Linked DNA regions of Homo sapiens: all the other regions are linked to region 6. The links are contacts of gene promoters, found by promoter capture Hi-C in human tissues and cell types (Jung and others, 2019). All regions are on one chromosome and are shown on one strand. Each heading gives the region's core, a stretch centred on a gene start or on the middle of the fragment in contact. The rest is flanking DNA. Distances are from core to core; before and after follow the strand shown. Region 1 overlaps TMEM132B (transmembrane protein 132B). Region 2 has its middle 290 kb from the start of LINC00939. Region 3 overlaps TMEM132B (transmembrane protein 132B). Region 4 overlaps TMEM132B (transmembrane protein 132B). Region 5 overlaps TMEM132B (transmembrane protein 132B). Region 6 holds the start of TMEM132B (transmembrane protein 132B).

Evidence for each region. The method cuts DNA at HindIII sites, captures the fragments that hold promoters and counts their contacts. A contact is called where the count stands out against the background at its distance.
Region 1: a contact is called between a fragment that was not itself captured here and the fragment with the promoter of TMEM132B in region 6, in 2 of the 25 tissues and cell types used here (dorsolateral prefrontal cortex and liver).
Region 2: a fragment that was not itself captured here is called in contact with the fragment with the promoter of TMEM132B in region 6 in 1 of the 25 tissues and cell types used here (H1 embryonic stem cells).
Region 3: a fragment that was not itself captured here is called in contact with the fragment with the promoter of TMEM132B in region 6 in 2 of the 25 tissues and cell types used here (H1 embryonic stem cells and dorsolateral prefrontal cortex).
Region 4: a fragment that was not itself captured here is called in contact with the fragment with the promoter of TMEM132B in region 6 in 2 of the 25 tissues and cell types used here (H1 embryonic stem cells and dorsolateral prefrontal cortex).
Region 5: a fragment that was not itself captured here is called in contact with the fragment with the promoter of TMEM132B in region 6 in 1 of the 25 tissues and cell types used here (dorsolateral prefrontal cortex).

Annotation. Positions count from the first base shown.
Region 1 is chr12:125,445,464-125,450,005 of GRCh38, forward strand. The region is part of intron 3 of TMEM132B (transmembrane protein 132B); the gene reads left to right. Among named protein-coding and RNA genes, the nearest start is that of TMEM132B, 260 kb to the left of the region's middle. The HindIII fragment of the contact is 7,222 bases long and covers 1-4,542 here.
Region 2 is chr12:125,686,064-125,690,854 of GRCh38, forward strand. No RefSeq gene overlaps it. Among named protein-coding and RNA genes, the nearest start is that of LINC00939, 290 kb to the right of the region's middle. The HindIII fragment of the contact is 7,013 bases long and covers 1-4,791 here.
Region 3 is chr12:125,520,047-125,524,548 of GRCh38, forward strand. The region is part of intron 4 of TMEM132B (transmembrane protein 132B); the gene reads left to right. Among named protein-coding and RNA genes, the nearest start is that of TMEM132B, 340 kb to the left of the region's middle. The HindIII fragment of the contact is 5,080 bases long and covers 1-4,502 here.
Region 4 is chr12:125,496,664-125,501,688 of GRCh38, forward strand. The region is part of intron 3 of TMEM132B (transmembrane protein 132B); the gene reads left to right. Among named protein-coding and RNA genes, the nearest start is that of TMEM132B, 310 kb to the left of the region's middle. The HindIII fragment of the contact is 5,731 bases long and covers 324-5,025 here.
Region 5 is chr12:125,539,144-125,544,241 of GRCh38, forward strand. All of the region lies in intron 4 of TMEM132B (transmembrane protein 132B), which reads left to right. Among named protein-coding and RNA genes, the nearest start is that of TMEM132B, 360 kb to the left of the region's middle. RefSeq lists an enhancer at 1-104. The HindIII fragment of the contact is 4,820 bases long and covers 889-5,098 here.
Region 6 is chr12:125,184,976-125,190,000 of GRCh38, forward strand. TMEM132B (transmembrane protein 132B) reads left to right here and starts at 1,411. Exons shown (of 9, transcript NM_001366854.1): 1 at 1,411-1,891. The coding sequence starts at 1,825. RefSeq lists an enhancer at 612-1,145 and a silencer at 1,194-1,403. The HindIII fragment of the contact is 11,061 bases long and covers 1-5,025 here.

The sequences.
Region 1 (4,542 bases), core at 1,194-3,693, 260 kb after region 6:
AGTGAGTACGGTATTTAAGCTTTGTCAGCAGAGGACACTGGAGGAACATGGTAGGAGGAGGGATCTGCATCTGGAGTGCTGCTCTTTTTTCTTCTTTTTCCTGCTGACATCTGGCTGCAGTGGTGCATGGGCAGGACATCCAGTGTTAGTCACTCCACCCCAGCTGTGAACCCTGAGCGTGTGATCCCTTGGCAAGCTCACAAGCTGGCCAGGCCTGGGTACCATCTTGTTGGGGCCTTCTAGTGTGGACACTGTGCACCCCAGGCCTTGTGCTGCCCTGACACCCTCTGCTTACCCCACCAGCCTGCACCGCGGAGAGTTGGCTCCTTTGACTTGGAGACAGACATCTCACACCTCAGGCCATGTGCTACCCTCCTGGGGAGTGGCTCTCAACACTGTGACTCACCCCTGCCCACCCACCCACCAGCCTCAATCCTTCATCCCAGGATAGAGTTCCCTCCTTGCCTCGCAGGGAGACAGCTCTGGGGTGGGCATCCCAGTGGAATTCTCTGCTATCCTGGGGGCTGCAACCTCGCTTTCTCCAACAAAGTCTGAATCCCAGTCTTGGGGAGGTCTCTCCAGGCCCCCGCCAAGTTGTTCCTTTCTTGGATACTTTTCATCAGCTCCACAGTATTCTTCTGAGTTCTCTTTTTATCTTGATAAGTTCTTCCCCATTATAGTTAATAGTTATTTGTTTTAAATTTTTTTTTCTTGTTCAAATTACTGACTGGACTCCAGCTGATGCTTGGCCTCACAGAACTGTTGTGAGGTGACTCATACAATGCACTTGGATCACAGACTGCAAATAGTAGGTGCTCAATGAATGCTAGTTATTATTACCTTTGGCATCTTAATATTTTCTTATTGATTTGTATGAGCTATTTATATATTAAGGATGTGAACTTAAAATAGAGCTTTAGAAAGTAATATAATAAAGTGGCCTACAGAATATCTAGTTAGAAGACCTAACTTAATGTTCATTAAGAAGTAACCAGGATTAGGCATAACTTTAGAGTAGAAAAAAAAGTTGGATTTGAATCCTGGCTCTGTAATTTGCTTATTTTGGGGAAGACCTTTAGTCTCTTCTAGACTCCTTTTTTCTCATTTGTATAGATGCAAATAAAAATAAATGTATTTTAGGGTTGCTGGGAAGACTACAAGAGATGAAGAATAATAAAGCTTTTAGGGCAGTTTCTCCTACATAGTAGGCACTCCATAAATGTTTCTTTGTCCTCTCCAGTTCAAGTCATATTCACTTTCACACATAATGAAGTACCTCATTTGGCATTCTTAACAACCTCAGGAAGCCACCAAGACTGGTATTGCAGCCGAATAAAAACCAAGGCACAAAGTCATTTAACTACTTACCATCACATGCTGGCTAGCAACCATGAAAGGACCAGAGTATTGCATTTTGGATTTGCTTTTACTCTACTTAAGAACTAATGAGTTACCATGACTCAATGAATCCTTGATTAATTTGATCTTTTGTTGCTTTGAAGTGACCCTCTTTATCTATATCTGTGCTTTTTGTCTTAAAATCTACTGCATATTGCTATTTTATACCAGTTTTCTTTTGATTACTATTTATGTGGCATATATATTTTTTCAAACTTTTAATTCCAACCTATGTTTCAGATATTTTGGATATGTCTCTTGTGTTTTAATTATATTTTTGCCAGTCTGTCAGCCTTTGTCTGTTAATTGGCATATGTTGTTTATTTACACTTAATGTGAAGACTAATATATGTGTTTTAATCTGTGGTCTTACTATGTATTTTCCCTTGTTTACTCCTATTCTATTCTGTATTTATTTCTGTTTTTTTTTGAATTAAATGGAAGGATGAAATAATTAAATAATTAAAAAATTCTCATTAGCTTCAAAGTTATATACCATTTTATTGCCTTAGTAGCTACCCTAGAGAATTCGTCACTTTTATTTATGAAAATCTAATATTATTTGATAACTTTACCACATATCCAGACAATTCCTTATAATATGTTAATTCCATTTATCATGCTCTGTATACGCCATTATTGTTGTGTAGGTTAATATTCTTTTTCTATAAATGATAAGACATAAGTATTATTTTAATAGTCAACACTCACATATATTACACATGTATTTGCTTCTTTTTTGCCTCTTTCTTTCTTCCTACATCTCTAATCATCTGGGTTCACTTTTCTTCTGCCTTTATAGGTATTCTATTTAGTAGTCTCTGCTACAGGTAAATGGTGTCAGTTTTTATTTGTCTGAAAATGACTTTATTTCATTTTTATTCTGGAATAATATTTTCCCTGGCAGTAGAAATCTAAGTTGGCAGTTATTTTCTCTCAGCACTTTGAATATATCATTATATTGTCTTCTGGCTTACATTGTCTCTGTTGAGAAGTTGCTGTCAGTCTATTTTTACTTTCATGGTAATATTTCTTCTTTCTGTGGCTGCCTTTTTAAGAATCAAAATATTTTGAGGTATAATTTAGATACAATACAACATATCCATTTAAAATGTACATTTTGGCCACTTGCGGTGGCTCACACCTGTAATCCCAGCACTTTGGAAGGCCAAGGCATGTGGGTCACCTGAGGTCAGGAGTTTGAGACCAGCCTGGTAAAAGGTGAAACCCCATCTCTACTAAAAATACAAAAATTAGCTGGGCATGATGGTGGGTTCCTGTAATCCCAGCTACTTAGGAGGCTGAGACAGGAGAATTGCTTGAACCCAGGAGGTGAAGGTTGCAACCATTGCACTCCAGCCTGGGCAACAAGAGCAAAACTCTGTCTCAAAAAAAAAAAAATTCATTTTGATGAGTTTTGACAAATTTATTCACCCAACTAATCACCATCAACTAGATGCAGAATAGTGCCATACTGTCTGATCTTAAGTATTCTTTGTGCTTTATCCCAATCAGACATTCCTACTCCTCTTCCCAGGCAACCACAGACCTGCTTTTCATTTTTATAGATTGAATGGATCTTTCCTACAGTTTAATAAAGATGAAAAGATGTGTCTGGCATCTTTTGCTCAGAAGAATGCTTTAAGGTTTATCCATGATGCTGTGTATATCAGTATTCAACTTCCCCATCCCAGTAGTATTCCATTGTATAGATATAATTTATTGTCTATTCACCTGTTCATTGACATTTAGTTTGTTTCCAGTTGCAAGCTATTATGAATAAGGCTGCTATGAACATTCACATACAAATATTTGGGTAAATACTCAGGAATGGGAATTCTGAGTCATATGGTAAGTATATATTTAATTTTATAAGAAACTCCCAAATTGTTTTTCAAAGTGATTGTATGATTTTATGCTTCCTACAGTAATGTATGAGAGTTTCAGTTGCTCCTCATTCTTGTCAACATTTGATATTGTCAGTCTTCAATTTTAGCCATCCTAGTAAGTATATAGGGGTATCTTACTGTGATTTTATTTACATTTCCATAATAACTAAAATTTTGAGCATCTTTTATTGTGCTTATTTGGCATTCATATATCTTTTTTTTTTTTTTTTTTTTGAGATGGAGTCTCGCTTTGTGCCCCAGGCTGGAGTGCAGTGGCGCAGTCTCGGCTCACTGCAAGCTCTGCCTCCTGGGCTCACACCATTCTTCTGCCTCAGCCTCCTGAGTAGCTGGGACTACAGGCGCCCACCATCATGCCCGGCTAAATTTTTTGTATTTTTAGTTGAGATGGGGTTTCACTGTGTTAGCCAGGATGGTCTTGATCCCCTGACCTGGTGATCTGCCTGCCTCGGCCTCCCAAAGTGCTGGGATTACAGGCGTGAGCCACCGCGCCTGGCCCATTCATATATCTTTGAGGAAATATCTGGTCAGTTTATCTATTTTGTCTGGTGTGAGCTTTGGTATTTGTCTTTCAAGGAATTTGCTGAATTAATTTATTTGCATGAAATTGCTTATAACATTCTCTTATTGCCCTTTTAATGTTTGCAGGATCTGTAATACTATTTTATTCCTGATATTCATAACTTTTCTATTTTCTGTTTTATTCTTGACTAGTCTGGCTGGAGATTTATCAATTTTTTTAATGTTTCCCAAGAATTAGTTTTTCATTTTATTGCTTTTCTCTATTGTCTATTTTCCATTTCATTGATTTTACTTTTATCTTTATGGTTTTCTCCTTTCTGTTTAATTTGCTCATCTTTCTCTAGTATCTTGGGGAGTATGGTATGACATGGAAGTGTATCAAATTGTGGGGTTTTTTTTTTGCTTAAACAATAGAAATTTACTTCTCACAGTTCCAGGCACTAGAAGTCAAAGATTAAAGTATCAGTAGGTTAGAGTGGGCCTTAATTCAAAAATCCTGGTGTCCTTGTAAGTAAATATGTTTTATGCATTGGTAGGGGTGTAACAATTCTGAAATAATTTTAGAAGTTTTCAAGAGTAAGCAAATGAGTCAACATTTTAGTGTAGTTGGGAGCCAACCAAAGAAATGACATTTGAATATTAAATGTAGAAAGAGTCTTGTGGCATTGAATTGTAACTGGAGGTAGTGGTATGACTTATGATTTCAAAACTGTGT
Region 2 (4,791 bases), core at 99-2,598, 500 kb after region 6:
CTGTGTGTCTTTTCTCCCAGCTTCCTTTGCTGGCAGTTTTATTGGTAAAACCATCAGTCTTGTTAGCACTCGTGATTCAGTACTGATGACCAGGCATTTTTTTTTTCTGTGTTGTGATTATTCTAACATAATTACTATGGGAAACATGTGTTGTTGAACAAAGCGCTGTAGGCATAGCCATGCCTGATTGGTTTCTATTAATTCCATTCATAAATCATGGATTAAAGTGGATGCAGAAGTGGAGAGGGAGGTGAAAGGAGCTGTGGAATGGTGAGCCAGCCCCTGCAAATTTCCCTTCTGGGGAAGGTGCTGGAAGTTTGTCCATCTCCCTGTTGGCTGCTTTCTCTTCTCCCCAAGCCCTCCCTTTACGTGCATTTCCCCTTCAGATCCCCAGCTGTTAAAAATCACAGACAATTGATCCAGGTATGTTCCTGGAGGATGTTTTTCCAGCCATCACTGTGATCTGCCAAGATGTGTCCAAATGCTGTATTCTGAGTTCTGCTGGGAGGGACCCCCTTCATACAAGCCTTCCTCGTCTGTATTTAGCTTCGTGATGCAACATCACACCCAGTGTCCCAGTTCATCCTCGCAACCCTGCTGAGAGGGTACCATAGCATGGAAAAAAGCTTGCAGCAGAGAATTTAATGTCTTTTGAGGAGCATCTCTGGCATGCCGTTGGGCCCTGGCAGAAATGGAAACCTTGATGTGGGTGAGGTACTGAGTGACCAGTGATTGTGCCTCTGGAACCGTCTTTCATGAGCTGGATTCTTTAGGATCCTCCAAGTCATAACGTTAGGTCAGCTGAGTATGGTCCACTGGAAGACGGAAATGGTAAGTCCAGCCCTGAGCCTGAGCAGGATCAGAGGGCACGAGGAAGCTGCATGGGCAGAATCCAGGCCCCAGGTTACCCACCACTGTTGAACCCATCATCCCTCAGTGTACACCTGTGGCCGGATGACCCCATGTTGCCCACAACTGTTGCAACCCACCATCCCTCAGTACATACCTGTGGCCATATTGAGGGTCTCTGACACCTGGAGGAGGGGGAACACACTGGAGCTTAGTCTAAAGATGAACCCACCAACATGTGGATGTGAGACCAAAATGGTCAGCTGCTGTATCATAGCCATACCCAGGCGTGGCCTTGAAAGGCAGTGGAGAGGAAAGATCTTTACACTGGGCAGAACCTTGAATAGAGCCCTGTACAACCACTTTGTGTGGAAGGGGATGTGGCTTGAAGTGAGAATTTATATGATCTCATGGGCAGTAATGGGTGGCCTGGTGGGCTAATCATGGATCTGAGAGATTGAGGACAAGGAGTTCTGGGGATGAAACACTGGATGATCACCTGAGATTGGACACAAAGTGAAAATCCTTCCGTTGAATGTTAATGTGTTAGCACTCACCCAGACACATCCATCACAGGCAAGGCATTCAACAATGAGTAGACAAGGAGGCCCAGCCCATTGACGTTAGCTGATCTGTCATTGGCCAACCCAAACTGGAGCAATGATCACATGCCCAGAGGGGCCATGGCAGCAGAGACTGAGGAGACACAGCCCCAGCAGTGTGGACTTCACTGCTCAAGCCTGGTTCAGCAGCAGCCACCTCTGAGTGTCCAGCCTGCCAGCTGCAAGAGCAATGCTGTGCCCTGTGATGGCAATGTCCTCGTGGAGGCTGTGCCAGTGCAGGGTCTCTGGGAAGCAGACACCAGGGTGGAGCTGGAAGTACAGGAGATGCCCACTCAGGGAAGGGGAGAGAGGGTGCAGAGGAAGGCAAGGGGAGCCCTCGGACGATGATGCATGTCTGGCACCTGTGAAAATGAGGAGGAAGGAAAGGGTTTAGCAAAGAAGGAGCCCAGATCATAGGGCAGCTTGGAGAAGGCCTCAGCCCACCCACGGGGGAGCTCCCATGCAAGGATGGCCATGGAGGAGCCTCACACCAGCAATGTGGAGCTGTTGTACCCCCGCGGTGCTCACTGGCTGGGAGCATCCCAGGAAAAGCATGTCCTTGGCTCAGATGCTGAGGCCGAGCCTGAGGTGCCCACAGCTAGAGGCTGTCAGCTCTCTGCACTCTGTGGGGTGGGCTCCCTCTAGGAGAGGGACCTCAGAGGGCACATCACTGACTGCCTCAGAGACCAGCCCATCTCTCGAGGCCAGCCAGGCTTCCTGGGGCCCTTCTGTACTGGAAGGGCCAGGAGCTTGTTCCCACTGAAACGTGCACCTGTGCTGGAAGGGGTTTCCCGCTCTTGGCTGCAAGGTCCCAGCCAGCACCTCTCCCCAGGGGGTTCTGGGGTGACTAATGCACAGGCGTTGAATCCCACGCAGCATAGCATCAGGGGAGCCACTGCACAGGAAGGAGGTGCTGGTGTGGGCTGGAGCATGATGCACGTTGGTCATCTCATGTGCTGGACCTTACGGAGCTGCCTGCCTGACAGTGCAGGGGAGTGGCGTGGAAACATGCTGCTGAAACACCAGCTCCATAACAGCTTCTGTGAGAAGGGGATGCTGCCCCCCAACCTAGGGAGAATCAGACCTCTATGTGGTGCTGTGTCCCCAACAGGAAGACCACACAGGACCAGGACTCAAGGTGCAGAAGCAGGAGTGGCCCCACTTCCCATAGTCCCCAGGTCCTCAGGGGGAGTTTGTGTTGACATAGTCACAACTCTGGGCTCTGTGTGCTGGAGGTTATGGCTGAATGTGGGGTGCCTGCTTTCTGGGGGACAGAGAAAGGGTCTTGTTAAAGTGCAAGCTATGGCCACTGCCTGGGCTCCTGGACTCCTGCATGTGAGGACCAGCAGCAAGGGAGTCATGTGGCCATTTATCCAGGGCACCTAAAACTATGGTCACACATGAAGGGAAGGAGGAATGAGCGTGGAGCTCAGGTAACCCCCATGGGTGCCTCTTGCCCCATTGTGACTGTGAGTGGACATGGGCGGCACTCCAGCCTCTGGAGGGCATGGCCACCAGGGCTTGAGGGCCCCAGGGAGGGAGGTTTGGTCCTACTAGCATGTGAGCCACCAGGACCAGGGGAGGGGAGGGTTGGTGGGAGAATCTGGAATGGACATTGGCAAGGAAACCATGAACAGCAGAGGTGGCCTTGAGATCAACTGCACGGTTGGGGCCTCCATAGCCTGGCGCGGTGGTATGTATCTGTAATCCCAGCTACTTGGGAGGCTGAGCTGAGAGGATCACTTGAACCCAGGAGCTCAAGGATGCAGTGAGCTGATAGCTGTGATTCTGCCTGTGAATAGCTAGCGTGCTTCAGCCTGGGCAATGCAGAGAGACTCGTCTCCTAAAAACAACAAAAAAAGGCTGGATGTGGTGGTGCTCACATCTGTAATCCCAGAGCTCTGGGAAGCTGAGGCGAGAGGATTGCTTGAGCCCAGGAGTTTGAGAGTAGCCTGGGCAACATAGTGAGACCTCGTTTCTACTAAAAATTTAAAAAATTAGCCAGGGATGGTGGCGTGCACTTGTAGACCAACCAACTCAGGAGGCTGAGGCGGGAGGATCGCTTGAGCCCAGGAGTTTTAGACTACAGTGAGCCATGATCGCACCACTGCACCACTGCACCCCAGCCTGGGCAACAGAAGGAGATCCTGTCTCAAAAAAAAAAAAAAAAGAAAAAAAGAAAATCCCCAAAGCTCCCTGACTGCCTCAGAGACCAGCCCATCTCTCGAGGGAGCTGCTTGTTGCTCCTGCCTGGGGCTGGGGCTGGCTCGGTGGAAGTTGCAGTGGTCCTGAAGGTGTGCTGCTTGGATGTCCCCTCAGGCAAGAGCTCAACCTCCCGCATCAAGTATGTGGCCTCTGGAGTCTTTCCAGATCTGCCCGTGGTCTGAGCTCTCACAGCGCGACCCTGCTTCCTCCCCTTCACAGGCTTTCCCCTCAGGGAACTCTTACTCCTCCAACCTTGTTTCAGCATCCACTTCCCTAAGGACCCATCCCACGCAGGAAGAGGCCACTATTATCCTCAGCCTGCATACGAGGGAGTTGAGGCCAGAGTCAGAGAACACGCCCAGGGGTGCTTGGAGGCCGAGCCAGGACTAATCCCAGAGCTGCGGATCCAGAGTCCCATCTGTGGTTGAGGGTGGCCACGAGGAAACAGGACTGAGGATGCTGGGGAGAGGATCAGGCCTCTTGGTGAATTCTCCCAAACTCCTTGGCCCAGGGACTGTGGTTATTGTTTGGGAGCGTGGGTCGGGAGAGAAGCCATCATCTCTGATACCTTTCAGACCGTTCACTGCATCCCTGGCCTCCTGTGGTTCCCACTCACATTTCCTAAAGAATGAATGGCATCAGCTTCAGAGAGCGGCTTCCTCCTGTTTATTCAGTGCAGCACGGGCAGGTCCCAGGCAGACACTGTGGCACTTTCGGAGGGGTCATCCCTTTTGCCTCCCTTTCCCCACCCCCAATAGGTGAGTTCAGAAGTTGAGTCTTTGCCAGCCCAGAGGCAGCTGGCACTGCAGACAGGCACCTGGAAGGCACCACACAGCTCTGGGTGAGGGAGGGAAACTCAGGCTTCTGAGGACCCTTAGCGGGCAGGGATCCCAGGAAGCCCCTGGCCATGATGGGGTTGGTGCCCTGTGAGTGAGTGTTTTCTCCACCGCATGTCCACTGCTACATGGCCAGCATGTACCGGGAGGCAAATATTTTCCTCTAATATTTAGATTTGGGAACATTTTTTTCCTCCAGTTGCTCTTGAAACATGTAACCTTGGCAGGAGAAAAATGTACTTTTTTTTTCTCACTTAATTCAGATTCTACCAGTCTCATTTTTAGCTCACGGGATTGAA
Region 3 (4,502 bases), core at 1,170-3,669, 340 kb after region 6:
AAATGCAGATGGACTGAAAGAGCCTTGCTGGGAACTGACCACTTTAAGCTGGGTAGAGCCCCAGAGTCCACAAAACTGTCTGTGTTTCTGCTTCACTGGCCTGGAGGTGATTGGATTTCTTCTCCTGGGCTTGGTTGAAGTTACGTTCATAGTCAAGCTCAGGGGCTACATCTGAGATCAGGGTCATGGGTGAGATTCCAGAGCCTAAATTCCAGAGATTCCACGGAGACAGTAAGTCCATGGGTACTACCTGCTTAATACCCTTTTCCACACTGGAAATGTTCAACCATTTTCTGCACTGCCTTGACTTTCCTGTCTGGTACCAAAGTGTGGGATCCATGTCCAGATACTCTAGAAAAATCTGTGGGTGCTTTTGATCATTCATCATGCAAGTTAAACAACAAAGTTGAGACTCCTTTGAACCCTATATCTTAGAATTAATTCTGCCATCCCCGAATCTCGAGTGTCTCAAGTGCGTTGAATGTGTCTCTCTGCTGGAACACACTTTCCCTACATCTCCCACGTCTGGGTCCTTTTCCCCACCTCAACTGTTAGGGAGTCACCTTCTCTGACCTTGTTGGCTAAAATTGGCCCTCCCTCCCCTGCCAGCTCATCACCCTCTACCTGTCATCATCCTGTTTTATCTTCTTCCTAGACATTATCACTGGTTGATATTTAGGGTTCATTTTCTGTCTTCCTCCCCAGAAGGTGGGATTCATGACAGTAGGGTTATCCTGGTCAGTTGTGTCCACATCTTTCACCCCTGCACCTAGCACAATGGCTGGCACAGTTAATGTTTGTTGAATGAATGAATGGATCTGTGCTTTAGTCCAAGCTTCCAGGGTCATTTAGTTTTTGAAGATTAGACTGACGGAGATCATTCCTATCATCATTGACCCACATTGTGGTTTGAAGGCAGCCAATCTAGACGGGGAAGTACCTGTTAGGGAACAGAGATGGATGGGTGTGGGTTTTAAGGTGGAATGAAACTGCATCCCTTGTGCCTGGGAACCCATCTATAAATTCTCCAGCTCAGCTAGGTCAGGCTGAGGTTGGGAAATCTCTACTCAATGTCCTTACCACTTTGCTCTATGCTTTATCTGTAGCACTGCATTCACTGTGGGTTTGGAAGCTACCACTGCTGCCACCTCCTCTACTTCCACCTTCTCCTTCCTCCTTCTCTTCCTCTTCCTTCACTTCCCCTCCTTCTCTTTCTCATTCTCCTTCTCCTTCTTTCTCCTTCTCCTTCTTCTCCTCCTTCCTCTTCCCCTTCCCCTTCTCCTTTTCCTTATTCCAAAGCAAGTCATGGAAAGATCAGTGGCAATTAATGCTGGACTGCCCCTGCATGAAGTAAGGGCACTAGGGTACATAGCTACATAATGTACAAAAAATGGGCTCACTATTTTCAGAGTCTGATGTGAAGCAGAAATCCCTCTGTAGTTAGAACAGAGCAGCTTTAAATGCAAGGACTTAAGTACACAGGGAATGAAACAGATGAGAAGCAGATGTAGAACAGAAGAGAGCTGGGCACCCTAGTAAGAGTGGGAATCTGCTACTACCCCCAGGCCAGAGGGTGAGGGTGGAGGGGTTATTACCAGAGCCCAGGACCTGGGGGTCACTGCTGCAGCTAGAATCACATTTGAGCAGCCTGGTTAGGGCTGGAGTGTGGGAGAGATTCAACTGTTGCGAAGGATGCTACCTGAGGCAGGGCTGGGAGCGGGGTGAGGAATTACCTGGCTTCTGCCTCCCTCCTCCTGCCAGATCCTGCAAAGTCTTTCACTTAATCTCATTCTGCTGGCTGAGGCATAAGCTTAGGAAGCAGCATCTTCAGGGCTCAACACTGCTATGATCCAGAACTGATCAGAGGAGGGCCAGGAACTGGATTTGAGGGTGACGGGCTCCAGCCAGTGCCATTATCTTGCTTGTTTTATTGCATGATGTGACTCCTGTGAACCAAATCCAGCCTGTCCCTCAGAAGCTTGCATATTCAGAACGTGGCCATGCCAAGTCTCGTTCCTCTCAGGTCTCCTTTTGGCTCCCTCGGCCCAGAATGCTCCATTATGGCTGATTTCTTGTCACTTTTCATTTGAAGGTCAACTCGTGGAGAGGCTTCTCCTGGTTACTCTGGCTAAATTAGTCTCCCCCTTTCTATTTTCACTTATTTGTCCTTGTCTTGTGCAGATCCCATCACAGTCTGTGATCCATGCTTATTTATGAGTGTTTGTGTCCTGTCTGTCTCAGTCTAGGTCCAGCCATAAGAAAGAATGTGAACACGGAAAGTTTAAAATAGAGAATTGTTAACTATCACAGAGGACTGGGATAGTGAGGGATTGGTTAGTTAGAAGTGAAGAGAACTCTAAAGAGTATAGGAATGGCAGATACAGGGAGCAGCTGCTAGCCTGAGGGCTGAACTATAATGCTGAAAGAAGAGGTTTCCCTGCCTATCCCCCCAAAGCAACATTTCTTGAGAGGTTATGGTCACAGCTTACTGAATGGCAGACAAGTTGCTGATGCAGCACTCGAGTAGAGCTTGATGGGAATCTGTCCTCTGTAGTGCTAGGGACAGCTGTTCACAAGTGATGCACTTGCTACCAAACTACTGAAGGTGGACCTTGGGGAAAGCTGCCAGCTGTGAGGTGCTGCTGGCCACCATGAACTGTAGGAGTGGGACACCGAGGAAGCCACCAATGCTGGAGAAGGTCTGTGCATGGCAGGAGCTGCAGAGAGAGGGCCTCAGCATCAGAAAGTCAACCCTTTCCTCCCAAACTGTCTCTCCAGTATGTTCTACTGACAAAGCCTAATATCGTGCCCATTGGAAAAGCAAAAATATTAAAATAGGGCTCAGATCTATTTTCACAGAGCAGGTAATGAGGGGTGAACTTGGAGCTGAGAGGCCATGAATCGATAACAAGCATACTGCAGGTCTTCCACACTGGATTTCAAGCTCCCTGATGAGAGGAGCCATGCTTGTTTTGCTTGCTGGATGTTTTTTCAGCATGGTGCCGAATATATAGTATTTGCTCAGCAAATGAACAAATGGTTATGCCTACCATCAGAGCCTGAGTCCATTGGCTAGAGAGCTCTTGCTTGCCATATTATTAATTTTCCTGTGCTGCGCTAACAAATTACCATAAACTCAATGACTTTAAAAACCTACAGATTTATTCTCTTAGAGTTCTGGAGGTCAGAAGTCTTAAGTAGGTTCCCTGGGCTAAAGCAAAGTTGTCAGGAGGGCTGGTTCCTTCTGGAAGCTCTAGGGGAGAATTTATTCTGTACCGTTTCCAGCTTCTAGAGGCCATCAGCTTTCCTTGGCTCGTGGGTCCACGTGACTCTCATCTCTGCTTCCATCATTGTATCACCTTCTCTGAGTCTCCTGCTTTCTCTTCCCTTTTAAGGACCCTTGTGATGACATGGGGCCCACCGAGATAATTCAGGATAATCTCCCCATCTCAAGATCCCTAACTTCATCACACTTGCAGAGATTCCTTTGGCCATGCCAAGTAACATATTCACAGGTTCTGGGATTAGGACGTGGACATCTCTGGAGGGGGCTGTTATTTTCCTACCACACTTGCTTATGCAGGATTCCAGCTCTCTCTAGTTGGAGCTTCCTCAAACTGGGTGCTCAGGGCTCTCCATCTCTTCTCGCATGATCTGCTCTGTCATTGTGTTGTAGCCCCAGGCTGCTGCCTGCACCAGCTTACAGCTTAATGCCTCCCAGGCTGCTGCCTTGGGAGCTCTCTTGGCCTCCATGTCACTCTAGCACCTCTGACAGCTCCAAGATCCTAGGGATACTACTCTCTCCTCATCGGGGATGCACTTTCATTGTGCTTGGCTCTTCCAGAGGACCCCAGAGCAGAGCTTCCAGAGCACCAAGGAACATGAGTCTCTTAGTTTTCACAGGCATCCTCATCCCCAGGGGGGATGTGGACAGCCACAGGACAGGGGCTGGGTGGGCTCTGGTCACAATTTCACATCACTGTCCTCTAATCCTGGGACTGGGAGGAGGAGACCCGAAGTCAAAGCCCAGCTGGCCTCTCATTCTCCACGTAGCCTCAGGCTGGTCACCTAACCTCCCTTTGCTTTAGTAGCTCATGTGTGAGTTTACAAGCAAGAGTACCTCTTCTGTCTACTTCACAGTGGTGTCAGATGGATAAACTGAGCCATAAAAAATATGAACATGCTTAAACTATCAAAGCAAATATAAAAGTCATGTATGTAAAGGGAAAATGTCCCAGATAGGGCACTGGATCAGATTCAGCTGGCGTGTGGGATTAACAATCCTCTCTATCCAGCCAGTTTCGTTATCCTATTGATTTGCCTGGGAAAATTTCAATTATGATTACCTTCGAGGTAGGTGGCAGTGAGATATTTTGGTCAAGAGTGAGGGCTATTGGGTCAACCTGCCTAGTTTGAAATTTGAACTCCAGTTACTAGCTTCATGATATTGGGCAAGTCACTCAATCTTTCTGAAGCTCCAATTATTTATCTGTAAACTGTAA
Region 4 (5,025 bases), core at 1,939-4,438, 310 kb after region 6:
CTCCCTGCCTTTGCCAGCACTGCTGCATTCTCTCTGGCCTTCATTCTCAGGTGCTCTTCACGTGCTGGGAGCTTACCTCCTGCTAGTTCAGAATCCCCTCCAGAAGGAGGTCAAGTGTTCAGTTTCCTCTACCCCCACTTCTTTCTGTAGGCCTTGCGAGGACCACTCTCTGTTAGTGCAGACTTTCTTTAGGCTGTGAACGGTATCATTGATTAGGTTTCAGTGCTTTTCATAACAAGCATATTCTAGTCATGCCTCCCTCATTAGCTTGATGGGACTTGCTGTTGCCCACATTTTTAAACCATGCATTTAGGCAGTCTTGTAGGTCTCTAACATGGTTGATGAAATGCACTGATTAATTTAGAGTCTTACCGGCTTCCTCTTTAAAGGATGGTTACCTTTATTTCAAAGCTCCAGGAGAGGTGGGGTCCCCCTATTACCCAGCCTGGGCTGCCCTAAATCTGCTGTCCTCCAAGGAGACTGAAGCACTTTCCTTCCTCATTGCCCTGCTGTTGACCTACGTGGAAGCACTTGCCAAGCAGTACTTTAAGTGTCTAGGTAAGAAGCACTTCAAATCTCAGCTTGGATGTTCTGCCCAAGTTGGAGAGTGATGCTCTCAATTATTTTCAACTGAAGGATGCCATTCAATGTTATAGCAATCTGGGATTTTCCTTTCATGGCCTGTGCTGGGTGTGGGGTTGGCAGTTTGAGGAATATTTCAGGCCGATTTCATTTAGTGTGGTCTTGACAAGGTATGGGGGCTTTCCTGTCTACATCATTTTATCCTTACAGGCTTCCAAGGTTCCATACTTTATTCCAGGAGATTTATAAAAGTTGTGGACTGTTGAAAAGTGAGTTGGGTGGTGACTGAGTAGAGTCTTGAGCCACAGATACTTATTGTTCCTTTTGAACCCTCGGTAAGTGTTGACTGTGGACTGTCCAGACTGTTTTTATCTGTATCTCTTTCTTTGTGAAGTCATTCGGGCCCTCTTCTTCTGAACCAGGGGTTTCTTCCTCTCTTTACCTAAGCATAAATTGAGCTGCATTATTACTTTAATTGATTTCTGAGATGTTATTGATCAAGCTAGGAGTTTGACTTTGTCTGAAAAACTCATTTATTGATGAAGCTTTAGGTAATCATTTCAAGTAAGAGTTCCCGCTCAGCAGGTGGCCAGGAGTTGGGGTTGAGCAGCCGGTGGCTAGCAGGAACATGCCTGAGGCAGGCATGACTGACAGGTGCAGTGGTGAACAGGAGACCCGTTTACATCTTAGCCATGCTTGATCATGAGTTGGCAAAGGACTCTGCTCGTTGTTGTGAGTTTAGACAAAGCAACCACCATCCTGACTGTCATCCTTCACCACGCCAAAGGGGAAGAGAGCCCTGAAATTCTCCCACTAGCAATTAAATGATCAGTCCAGACCTGACACACGCTGCTTTATTTACCACTCACTGGCCAAAATTGATCCACATGACCCTACAAGCCAGTGTGTTTTAAACTAGAGGCATCCTCTGGTTCTCTGAGGGTGTATATTTCTATGTCCTGGTCAGAAGGCTGGGAGGATAATGAGAAGAACAGTAAAGGATGATTTAATTTACATGGGAATGCTGAGTTGATGGCTAGGTGTTTTTTCTGTTTAGCATTAGTAGGAATTGCACTGAATATGTGCAATAAATCACTGTGTGTATGTGGATGGTGGGTGAGGGTGTGGAGAAAATCACACACAGCATCCTTTGCTGCCCCCTTCACTTGCAGATCAGTCAGTTAAGCAAATAGCTTTTGTTGGCTGGAGACATCTAACCATGTTGTTAGCATGTTTCAGAGACAATATCTGACTTCCTAGCAGAGAAATGTCTGTGATTACATAATAGGACATTGCAGTCCATGTGCCACGTCTTGTTAGCCTGTGTTTTATAAACCAGCCAGGCTGGTCCCCTGGTGGAGGGACTCAGAAAACATAACTCAGGAGACAGGTAAAGAGGATACCCCCTGATTCTAGTTGGAAAGACCAGCTTACACTCCAGGCTGCGGGGTCCTTGGAACACATTTATTTACTTTGGGTTACTAGAGTCCCATGGGGCTTGTTCTAATGTCCTTACAGAGGATACTGGTTAACGGTGTCTCTGGAGGTGACTTCCTAAGAGCTTCTGGCACAGTCTTCCATTGCTTTCATTTCTAGTAAATCAGGTCTCCTGCCCAAAGGGCATGCAGGTTTCCTGTGGGTTATCTTTGGGGAAAGTGACCTGGACCTGTTGGTGATAAGCTTGGGAATGCTCAGTTAGCAAAATAATAATAATCTCTATAGGATTGTCCTTTGCTTTTGAGATTGCTTTTGAGTAAGTCCCACAACATTAATTGAGCCAATTCATCTGGGAGAAGCAAGGCCTCTACTAGGCCTTTGGTGTGGTTATCATGTTTAATTAAAATGCCAGCTGCAAATAAGAAGCTCCTAAAGCTTACCAAAATCACAGACCATCCCCAAAGCATATCTGCTGTCTGTGTAGACATTTGATCTTGTATCTCTAGACATTTGATCTTATATCTCTAGCTAATTGACAGGCCCTAGGAAATTCTAAAATTTTGATAATTTGTTGACCAAATTTAGTATTTCGGCCTTTCAGAGGAGATTGGATTTGAGCAAGACTGATTGAGTTGAGAGCTATAGGGAGAACCCCTGAGACTATTGCTATGGAATAAAAGATGAAATGCTCCTGATTATTGTAAATACAAAATTGCATGCAGGATTGTGTAAAGACAATGCCAGGTTGGACTGCCAGAATGAGCCAACAGCGCGTGATGTGCTTCCCCCTGCAGAGAGCCTATGAATGGACATGCAGTCAGGGAGGTTTCACATCACCAAGATTCCTATCCCAGAAAAGCAGATGTTCATAGCTCTGGGAATGGAATGCGACCCTTATGGAGAGCCTATAAGTGGACGCATGGGGGGTGCCTGTCCATATGGATAAGATAGGGCTATAAACGCCCTCATCTTGCCACGGCTCTTCTAGGCCTCTTTAGGGTTAAGGCATACTCCCTTCTGAGAATTTCTGGTCTAACCGGTTGTCTAGCTTCACGTCCTGTTTCTGTGGATTGTTTGTAACAAGCTTTTGCTGCAACTGTTACTGCTGATAATATTTTACTAATCATAGGTTATGGAAAGATTGTGTTTCTGTTTTAAGGCTCTGTTAGAAATTACTGACGCACACACTATATTGTAAATTCTTATCTTTGTATACTGTACTTCTGCATACAAATGTTATGTTAAAGAATTACTTCATCCCTATGTGACCATCTCACCTCATAATCAAATGACCCTAAATCCCTCACTAACCTACCCCCACCCTCACTAAACTTAATAATAAATGCTGGTATATCCAGTGCATTGTTGGCACCATGGGACCAGAAGGCGGTGATCCCCCGGGACCCAGCTTTCACTATCTTGTGTGTGTCTATTATTTCTCAACCTGCCAGTCCACCTGGGAACAAAGAGAGAGCCCCGTTGCATTGCAGGCTGCTGGCCAGATCCTGCAATAGAGAGCCTCTTTGGTTCTCAAACAGGACTCACTTACAAACACTTGTAAGTTTGAATTATCTAAGCAGAATGTCTCAGCTTTTGACACAATTGGCATTTCAGGCTGGGGGAATCTCTGGTGGGGAATCTCTACAAATCTCTGGGCATTGTAGGAAGTGCAGCAGCCTCCTGGCTTCTACCCACTGGATGCTGCTAGTAGGACCTCCCCTAACCCTGGGGTGACAACTGAAAATGTTTGCAGACATTGCTAACTGTTCCCTGGGGGACAAAGTTGGTGCCATTTGAGGACCACTAGTTTCAAGGTGTTTCAAGGAAGCTAGAGGGAGGCAAGAAACATTCCCATTTGAGGACATGATAATCTGAGGTTCCTCTTGCAGAGGGTAAGGCATGGAGAGGTTTATTTGGAATGTCATAAGAATGGATAAAAACATGTGAAATGGAAGGGGAAGAATTTTGTAGGACGTCAATCTAGAAATAGAAAAATACTGGGTACTATCAGGGAAGAGTAAAGTCTGAATGGCTTGAGGGGCTGTGAGGTTACGTGGATGTCCTAACTCCAGGTAGCAGGCTTAGGTCAACTTGGTTGCAGCAAATGAGGAGAGTAGATTTTTGTTCTATGGGGTCAAGCGAGAGACTAATAAATGGTGGGTCTCTGATCTCCCTTGTGCTATTGAGTTAGGATCTCCAATGCTTGTCCCTATCTTTGATGTACAAGTAGAGAGAGAGTCGTATAGTAATTGGGAGGGCCTAAGGATAGGAAGGTTTTGAAGGAAGTCCTCAAAGAAACAGAAGACAGGTGAAGACAGTTCAGAACAAGGGTTTTATGTCAGCTTTTGTCAGATCGAATAAAGGGAGAGCCAGTTCAGAAAAGTTAGGAATCCAGTCTCTTGTAAGGTTGAGAAATCCTTCAACTTGTCTTTTGGTAATTGGATGGGAAGGTTCACAAACAGCTTCCTATCTTTGAGAGAAAAGAGACTTTCCATTTTGTGGAGAATTGCCAGATAAAATACAAGATACCCACGTAAATATGAATTTCAGATAAATGAGGAATAATATTTTAGTATATGTATGTTCTATGCAATACTGTTCTCTGTTCCATACAATATTTGGGAAATACTTATATTAAAAATTATGTCGTTTACTTGAAATTCAAAATTAACTGGGTATCCCATATATATTTTAATTTTAATTTTAAGTTCCAAGGTACATGTGCAGAATGTGTGGGTTTGTTACATAGGTAAACATGTGCCATGGTGGTTTGCTGCATGTATCAACCCATCACCTAGATATTAAGCCCAGCATGCATTAGCTGTTTTTCCTGATGGTCTCCCTTTCCCCACCCCACCCCCGACAGGCCCCAGTGTGTGTTGTTCCCCTCCCTGTGCCCATGTGTTCTCATTGTTCAGCTCCCACTTGTAAGTGAGAACAGGACATCTCATATTTTTATTTGTTAAATTAGGTCCCAATTTTGTGGGATGCCATGGCTGAATAATG
Region 5 (5,098 bases), core at 2,049-4,548, 360 kb after region 6:
TGGCTTCCCATTGCATTGTGAATGACGCCATGACACACACATTCTTAAGTGGCCGAAAGAGGTCTGTGTGCCTTCTCTTGCCCACCCTCTTCCCTCACTTCTCATCCCTTTCCTATACTTTCTGGCCATGCTGGCCTCCTTTCTTTTCTGGAATGGGCCAATCTTGTTCTCACTGCAAGGCCTTGGAACACGTCCTTCTCTCTGACAGGCTCTCTCTGACCCCAAGAGCAGCTCCATCTTCTCCCCGCCCAGGTCTTAGGTCAGATGTGTTCCCCTCGATGAGGTAATGGTGCTGTCTCTCAGTGACCCGTTGTGACACCCATCTGGTTTCTTTCCTTCGCAGAATGAGCACTCTCCAAAATCCTCTGGTTACACATGTGTTTGGCAACTTATTAGCTCTCTCTTCCTGGGAATGTAAGCTCCGTGAGGGCAGGCCCTTGTTCATCTTCACAATTCTTTGATGAATGGTTGGCTGTCATTTTGAGTGAACTTTGACATGCAGTCATTCATAATATTCCCCTATTATGCTTTTGATATGTCTAGACTCTCTAGTGATGTCACCCTTCTTATTCTGGCATTGATTCTTTGTCTTCTTTCTTTTGTTCCTGATCAGTCTGGCTAGAGTTTTATCAATTTTAATAATGATCTCAAATAATCAACTTTTGATTTCATAGATTTTGCATTATATTTTCATATTTCATTGGCTTTTGCTGTCATATTTGTGATTTCTTTTTGTCTGCTTACTTTGGTTTTAATTTTCTCTTTTTTAATATATTAAGGTGAAAGCAGTCACTGATGTAGACCTTTCTTTTCTCCCCTATAGACATTTAGTGCTATAAATTTTCCCCTAAGTTCTCATAAGTTGTATTTTCATTTTTCATTCAGTTCACAATATTCTCTAATTTTGCTTTTGATTTTTTTCTTTGGTCCATAGGTTTTAGAAATGTGTTACAGATTTTCCAATGTTTGGGGGCATTTTCCAGATATCTTTCTATTACTGATTTCTAACTTTTATCCCACTGTGGCTGATAACATACTTTATATGACTTAATTCCTTTTATATTTATTAAGACTAGCTTTATGGTGTAGAGATAATTTCTCTTGATAAATGCTCTGTGCACACTGAGAAATGTATTCTGCTGTTGTTGAGTGGATTATTCTATAAATGTCAGTTGGTCAAGGTGGTTGATTGTTTTGTTCAAGTCTGCTAAGTCCTTGCTGATTCTTTTCCCACTTTTTGATATCAATTATTGAGAGGGGGTTTTGACATATCCTACTATTGTTGGAGATTTGTCTGTTTTTTGTTGTAGTTCTATCAGATTTTGCTCTATCCATTTTGAAGCTCTGTTATTAGATATATAAAATTTAAGATGGTTATATTACATTGATTAATTGAACCTTCTATCACTATGAGACTAACTTCTTTGTCCATGGTAATATTATGTGCTATAGAATCTACTTTATCTGATACTGTTATAGCCACTGTGGCTATCCAGTCCCTAATCCAGACTTTTCAGGACCTCTACAGTGACTACTCAAGTCCACCAGCATCTCTTGCCTGGTTTGTGGTGTAATCTCTCCTAGTTCTACCCTGGCTCATTACAGTCTGCTCTCCACGCAGCAGCCAGACCTATCATGTCTGACCTCTGATCCATTGTTCCACTGTCATCTTCTCTCACTTAGAAAAACGTCTGAAATCCTTATCATGACCTAGTAGAGCTCACCAGATCTGGCCCCTGGCCACCTTTCTGACTTCACCTCCTAATCACTCTCTGTTTCCTTGGTATCTCCCCTCCAGCCATATTGGCCTTGTTGCTGTTTCTCAGATGTGCCATACATGGTCTTGCTTTAGGGCCTTTGTACTTCCTGTTCCCTCTGCCTGGCCTTCTCTTCCTCCAGATGTCTACAAGACTCATGCTTTCAGTTCAATCTGGTTTCTGCTCAAATATCACCTGGTAAGAGCGGCCTTCCCTGATCACCCTGGAGAGAACGACCAACTCCTTTTATGCTGCTTCAGTTTTCTTGCTTTGTTTTTCTTCATAATAATCATTGTCACGACACATTTTGCTATATCTTTCGCACCTGGAACAGCAGCTGACACATATAGAGAGTCCTCAACAAATATTTGTTATTGAGCAGGAAACTTGAGTTTCAGAAGGAGCCAGGCAGCCTCTTATGCGGGAGCTAGGGCTTGACCCTGGCACCCCTGATTCTGTCTGTCCTGACACTGTCTCTTCTGATACAGCCTCTTGGGGTTTTGCATCACTGGACAGATGTTCACTAAAACAGCCTTCTCTCTCATGTATTTCTTGGCACACAGGATGTGACTGCATGGGCCTTGAAAAGTGAGAGGTTGGAGTGTCAAATAAATATGGAAGAAATTTAATTAAATAAAGGTAGGTAGATTTCATTACCACAGGACTTCTTAAGAGCCTTTAATATGCCAAAGTGCTTTATAAATCTCACCCTAAAAGGTGAGAGTGTTCAGCATTCCTCAGCTTCCATAGTGCTATCCTGCCTAAATGACTTCCTCAAATCAAGGGAGGAGACATAGACAGATGCAACCCTGTGAGTCCACCGAGACCTGGTGTTTTAAAGAAGTGAACGCCTTCACGCCTGTAATCCCAGCACTTTGGGAGGCCGAGGCTGATGGATCACGAGGTCAGGAGATCGAGACCATCCTGGCTAACACGGTGAAACCCCGTCTCTACTAAAAAAAAATATATAAAAAATTAGCCGGGCGTGGTGGCGGGCACCTGTAGTCCCAGCTACTTGGGAGGCTGAGGCAGGAGAATGGCGTGAACCCGGTAGGCGGAGCTTGCAGTGAGCTGAGATCGCACCACTACACTTCAGCCTGGGCGACAGAGCAAAACCCCCGTCTCAAAAAAAAAAAAAAAAAAAAAAAAAAAGAAGTGAACACCTGCTTCCTCAAAGTGGACCTCACCAAAGGTGGTGCAAAGCCACTCTGGGAAGCATAAAATCATGTATGAGTTAGAAAAGTTAGCATGAATTTGATTTGCTCTTTGACCTGTACATTAATGCGTACCTCTAACCCAGAGAGAAAACAGCTTGCGTCCATGTTGCTGCTCAACAATGTCTTTCTTCAAGAGTCTGCTAGGGTAGAGGTCAGGATTGTTGGAGGAAAATAATGTCTTTAGATGGTAGATTTGTTTTTTCCTGAAGTTTTTACTGTGGTAAAATATCACAAAACTTACTATCGTCACCATTTTCAAGTGTACAGTTCAGTGTTATTAAATATATTCATACTGTTATGCAGCCATCACTACCATCCATCTCCAGGACTGTTTTCATCTTACAAAACTCAAACTGTGTACCCATTCAACACTAACTCCCTATTCCTCTTTCCTTTCAGTCCCAGGCACCCACCATGGTGCTTTCTGCCTCTGTGATTTTCCTCATGTAGGTAGATTCATAGAGTATTTATTATTTTGTGGCTGGCTTACTTTGCATAGCATGTTGTCCTCAAGGCTCATCCATGTAGCATGTGTCAGAATTTCCTTCCTTTTGAAGATTGAATACTATTCCATTATATGTGAGTAGACCACATCTTGCTTATCCATTCATTCATCTGTTGATGGACACTTGGGTTGCTGCCATGTTATAGCTTCTATGAATAACACTGCTGTGAACATGGGTGTTCAAATATCTCTTCGAAGCCTTGCTTTCTGTTCTTTTGAGTATATTGGAGAGCAGGCTTTTAATTATTTTGGTATCTTATTATACAGGGTGCTAGACGAGCGTCAGCAATGTGGCAGCTGTTGGACTGTGTGATGGCCTCCATTCTGATGATGCTGTTTGCTTTCTCAGGAAATGAGAAATGCATATTTCAGATCTAGGAAGGTGATCCCAGAATATGACCCTTATTCAGTCACTTATTTCAGTTGCATGTAACAGAAAGTCTAACAGTCCAGGGATACTTGGGGTTTTAGAAACAGCTGAATCCAGGGACCCATATATGTCTTTATTCATTTCTAGGCTCTACTTTTCTCAGAAGTCCAGACAGTCTCTGTCAATGTGGTGACCCCTATCATACTTATAGCTTAAAAATTCAGTTATATGATAATGCAGTCATCCCTCCCTATCTCCAGGTTCTGCATTTGTGGATTCAACCAACCATGAATGGAAAATATTAGAAAACTTAACAATAAAAAATAATACAACCATAAACAACAATACAACAATAAACAATACAAATTTAAAAAACCAATGTTGTCTAACAACTATTTACATAAAATTTACATCGTTTTAGGTCTTATAAGTAGTCTAGAGATTATTTAAACTACACAGCAGGATATGAATAGGTATATGCAAATACTGTATCATTTTATATAAGAGATTTGAGCTTCCTTCAAGTTCTGGATCCTGGAGCCAATCTTATGCAGATACCTAGGGATGACTGTAGTGCTTTTTAAATACCTTCTGCATATGGGTAGCCAGTTCTCCCAGCACCATTTATTAAATAGGGAATCCTTTTCCGTTGCTTGTTTTTGTCTCACACCAGTTAGAATGGCGATTATTAAGAAGATTATAAACATCAGATGCTGGCGAGGTTGCGGAGAAATAGGAAAGCTTTTACACTGTTTGTGGGAATGTCAATTAGTTCAACCATTGTAGAAGACAGTGTGGTGATTTCTCAAAGGTTAGAACCAGAAATACCATTTGATCCAGCAATCCCATTACTGGGTATATACCCAAAGGAATATAAATCATTCTATTATAAAGATACATGCATGCTTATGTTCACTGCAGCACTATTTGCAATAGCAAAGACATGGAATCAACCCAAATGCCCATCAATGATAGACTGGATTAAAAAAACTGTGTACATATAACACCATGGAATACTATACAGCCATAAAAAGGAACAAGATCATGTTCCTTGCAGGGACATGGATGAAGCTGGAAGCTATTATCCTCGGCAAACTAACACAGAAACAGAAAACCAAACACTGCATGTTCTCACTCATAGGTGGGAGTTGAACAGTGAGAACACATGGAGGGGAACAACAGACACTGGGCCCTGTTGCAGGAGGGTGGTGGGTAGGGAGAGCATCAGGAAAAATACCTAATGCATGCC
Region 6 (5,025 bases), core at 161-2,660:
TGAGTTCCGACTTCCTAGGTCAGGGGCTTTGTATGTGTTATTGGGGACACCAGGTGATGTGCAATGCCTTCCATCTCTCAGATGAGAAAACTGAGGCTCAGGGAGGAATAAGGGACTCGCCCCAGCTTGCACAGCTAAGGAGCGGCAGAGCTGGGATTCTCAGCCAAGACTCCATGACTCCAGAGCCTTCCCCAAATCTGTCTTTTCATCACCCCACGCTGCCTTATTGACCATTTTCAAAGAGTTTGACCCACTTTTTCATGGAAAACTGAGATGGCAGAGCAAGTGGCTGGTGTGGTGGGGGCTGGGGCGGAGCCAGGACTCCAAGCCACCCTCCCAGGTGGGCAACCCCCCATATCCCCTGTCCTCCCAGCGTGGTGGGGAAGCTTGAAGGCATCTGAGCGCTGCTGGAGGCTCCCCCACATGCTCCCAGCATGACTCATTCATTCGGCTTAGCCCCCCGTGGCTTTGCCCTGGTTGGGGGTGGGGCGCCCAGGAGGATCAGTGGTTTCTGGGATAATAGGTACTGGGGCTCCGTGTGACCTGTGACCTCCCTCCGCACTCTGGCTGCGTCCCTGCCCCTGGATGGAAGAATTCGACCACCTAGTACCCGGCCCTGCGCAACACCTCCGCTCCGTCACTGCCTGACCCTGCGCTGGGAACTCATTCCCGGGACCGCCAGGGAATCTGCCCTTCCCAGGAGAACTCCTGGCTGCCTCCGCGTGCTCCTAGGGCCTGCGCGAAATGGGAAGGCGCATCCTCTAGCCTGGGTAAATAAGGGACCCTGCCTCACCCGGGTGGCCATCCCCAGGCCGCCTTCGCTGTGTTTCAGGTCACCGCACCCAGCCTGCGCACCCCTAGCCCCCATCCCGGTGCCGTGCAGAGGCTCTGCACACAGCCTCGGCCTCCCGGAGGCCCTCCCCTCTCTCCTCTCCCCTCTCCCACAGGCACTCCCTAGCTGTGCCACATTTAACCCGGGACCTCCTGTCCGCGCTCAGTCTTGCAGTCTCTGGCCCCGGCAGACACCACCTCTCCAGAGGTCGCTGCCCCATCCCGGTGACCCTCCGCTGGCCTCCTCACCCCTCGACCTTGGCAACTCCTACCGCTGCGCCCCAAGACGCCGGATCTAGCTGGGCATCCCCTCTCTGCATTGCGCACCCCTCCCGCAGCCCCTGTACCCGCGAGCGCCCGCGACCCCCGGCGGGCTCCCGGAGCCTCCCGGCCGGGCGCCCTCCCCCGAACCGCCGAGCAGTGGCGCGTCCCGCCGCCTACTGGCCGGGCTGCCGCCTGTGCCCCGGCTCCCGGGCGGCCCCTCCCCCGGCCGCGGCCCCGCCCTCCGCTCCTCTCCTCCTCCTCCTCCTCCTACTCCTCCTCCTCCTCCTCCTCCCCCCGGCGCTCGCTCGCTCGCTCACTCTCTCGCTGGCTCGAGGGGCGGCCGGCAGATGGCGATGGCAGAGGCGGCGGCGGCGGCGGCGGCGCGACCGGGATGGGACGGGCGCTGGGGCGCAGGAGCCGCGGCGGCGGCGGCGGCGGGGGCCGCGCAACTCGGGCCAACTGCGGGGCAGCCGGCCAGGGCGCGGGGCGCTGAGCCTCGGCCGCCCCAGCTCCCCAGCCACGCACGGCCGAGCCCAGGAGAGCGCGCAGAGGCGCAGCCGAGGAAGCGCCGCCAGCGCCGGCGCATGCGTCTGGGGAGGAGCGGCGCGCTGGGAGCGAGCCATGCCCGGCGCCCGGGCGTAGCCGCCGGGGGCTGCTCCGGGAGCCGCGGGCCGGGCCGGGCGCGCGAGAGGAGCAGCCCCGCGCCGCACCCACCGCGCGCCGAGGACCATGCCGCCCCCGGGCCGGGCGCCGCCGCTCGGGCTCCTGCTGGCGCTGACTGCGCTCCAGTGCCCAGGTAACGCGTCCCCGGACCCCATCCCCGACCCCGGCCGAGGCGCACAAAGTTGGGTGAACGGGCGGCTACCTCCTTCTCAAGTCCCTGGCAGCGCGCATCTCCCGGACTTGGACAGACCTGGGGAGACCCTGGGAACCCAGGAGCCCCCGGCGCGTTCCCCTTTGCCTAGCGCCTGGGGAGAGCCCGCCTGCCTTCTCCCCCAAACCCTTAGCTTCCTTGCGGATCCTTTCGGGACGCACGGGGGCCACAGACCGGGGCACTCAGCCTCTCGAGGCGGGTGGGGACGCGACTGCAGGAATCGAGCCCCCTCCCCGCCCTGCCTTGGGCCAAATCCCCCCCAGGTCCCAGTTCCTCCAGGGGTTTTGCTGGGCGGGGGCGTCGACGCAGCCCTTCTCCAGTGTCTTGCTGCCCGCGGTCGCACAGTGGTGCGTTCCCGGGACACCTGCGGGCCCCGGAGATGTCTCGGCCGGCGCTGTCTGGCTTGTCCGCAGCCCCTCCCCACGCCCCGCGGCCCTCCCCTGCTTTCACACTGCCCTCCCCAAGCTACCCACCCTCGCCAAATGGCCTCCTCTTGGCCAAAGAGCAGCCCGCTGCGCGCCTCCTGCAAACGCGGTCTACTCCAGCGCCCTGACCCCAAGGCGGGCGGGAGAGGGTAGCCGCGGCCAAGCAGTCCAGGACGCGCCGGGGAGCCTGGAACGCGGTGCTGTCCAGAGCCATTGCCTGGGCACCGGGGAGCTGGACTCCCTGCTGAACCAGCTCAGCTGTCGCCCAATCCTAGTGAGTGGGAAAAGCAAAATAGTCAGGTATTGTCTGTCTTCGCTGGAGTTTGGAAAGCTTTCTACCCACCTTGGTGTGGCTACATGTTGGTTCTATAGAAAGCGTATCCTAAAATGACAATTCCTCCCCTCCCCCCACCCCATGCAAGCAGTGGAGAAAATCCTAAAGGCTCAGATGAACCCCGGGAACAGTCACGAGCAGCCTTCATGTGCTTTTGAAATCTCAGTTCTCCAAACCTTTTAAAATCAAGACCCATGATTTGGGAACAGGTAGCTTTTGCTTTAGAAAATCTCTCCCCATTTCCTTAACAAACAAATCGCACAGACAGGCAGAATGCAGTAGAAAAATACAACTATAACTTTTCGGCTTTCACTGTCTTGGTAAGGTTGCAGTTAGGAGCAAACCTGGCATGTCAACTTGATGTTCGATGTATTTTATTTGCATGGAAAAAGTCAGTGTCGGCTTCCTTTGAGATGCCCTTAAGTGACCCAAAATATTTACCAACACCTTCGACTTGAAGAAAACCTTCTATTGGAGATCTCCGTCAGCGTTCGGCTTTGGTTCAGCCTAGAGAATGGCATTGGGCTTAACGTGGATGAATCTTGCCTGCTTGGCTAAGGAGCAGCTATGATAGCTGTTTTGCTTTCGGCATTCCTCTGCGGTCCACGAGAGGGGCTGCTGCTGGGGCCGAGGCTGTTTTCTCTTAGCTGAAGCCCTGGGACCTGTTTGCAAAAGTGCAGTCCCTCGGACTTGAAAATTGCAGTTTTGTCTCTATTTTGTTTCTCCACGGGGGTCAGCATTTGCCTGGATGTGCTTATAAGTGAATATCGGAAGTCTCTCAGAGAAGCTGCCTGCATAATGCTTTGTAAGAGAATAGGATGGTCCCCCTACCACCCCCCCACCCCCGTCCCCCGCCCTCTCCCCCAGCAACAGAAGAGCCTGTGCCTGGCTCTGGAAGGCCCCATGTTGGGAGGGAAGGTGAGCTCCCACTGAAACCTGCTGCTGGCCGGCTCTTTGCCTGCTCCCCTGCTGTTCTTTGGGAGAGTCTCAGCAGGGCAGCTCGTTCCGACAAATGCCGTCCGGGCAGAGCCCCCAGTGCCATCGCCCCGTCCCTGGAAGCACATGCAAGTCTTTAACTGGTCCCTACCAGGGACATAAAGAGACGACAGTTTGATAACTCTATATTTAGCACTAGTTAGGAGGGATGGCAAAAAAAAAAAAAAAAAAAAAGAAAAAAAGAAATTCCTGAAAGATACTTAGCTGCCTACACTTGGTTTTGAGAGGTTCAGAGGAATTAACCAGAGCTTCCTTCAGGGCTGGTTGGATTTTCTGGGTGATTTCTGCCATGGTTTACCGACCCCCTTTGGCTGAGGCTCTGGAAGAGGGGCTGGAAGAGTTCAGAGGCAAAGATGCGCACACTGTCTCCCATCACACACACGCAGGGACTGGCTTCTTTGTCCCCCACCCCCCTTCCTGCGTGGGTAGCTGCCATGGTAAAGAGTAGGGTGGGTGTACTTCTTTCAGCCTTGCAAGTGCTTAAACATATGGAACTGTACTTGGTAAGAGTCAGCACAAATCCCCCAGCTTAGCGACTAGGGGGCCCCTATTATTCGAGCCACTTTTGTACATGCTGTGGCTTTGCAAATTAGCGGTGCAGTTACAGTCCCTGCTGAGGAAAATGAACGAATCTTGCTTCGTTGACTCATTATGCACGGGGGTCTAGGGTCTATGAAATCAGGGTGGGTGGAGCACCCCCACCTGCCCCACGACAGAGGGGCCACATTGAGTGGCAGGGGGGAGCTTTGGCTTTCAGGGCAGAGGCTCTCTTCCTCCTGCCTGGCACCTTGGTGTGGCATGTGGTATATTTCTCATTACAATAGTGATGGGGGGGGTGCCTGTGTGTGGCGCTGCCCTTCAGAGAGGTGGCATTGGGAAGTGGTGGGGAGTGGTATGCAAATGTCGTCGCCTTCTCCAGTGATTTAATGGCTGCACAGTGGAGGTTCCCAGAGTAAATCATTTCATCCCCTCTCCTCCCACCGGATGCAGGGAGTTGGGGAGGCGTGGGGCTTCTGCATGAGCTACTGCACTCAGAGCCAACAATGAGCACGGTGGTTGCCTTGATCCAAGGGAGCAAAAGAAAACCCTCATTTGTTGGCTGGGAGTCTGGGGTGGGGGTGGTCTCTGGGCCGGCAAAGCCCTTTCAGGGGCCTTGTTCCCAGATGCGTCTCCCAGCTCTATGTGGCTGGGTGGCTCCTTTCTTCTCTTCTGTGTCTCAATTTGAATGGGGATGGAGGGGGTCCATTTCCCCTGAAGCCATGGGACTCAGCAATCACTGTGGCGAGATGGAGGCACCCTGG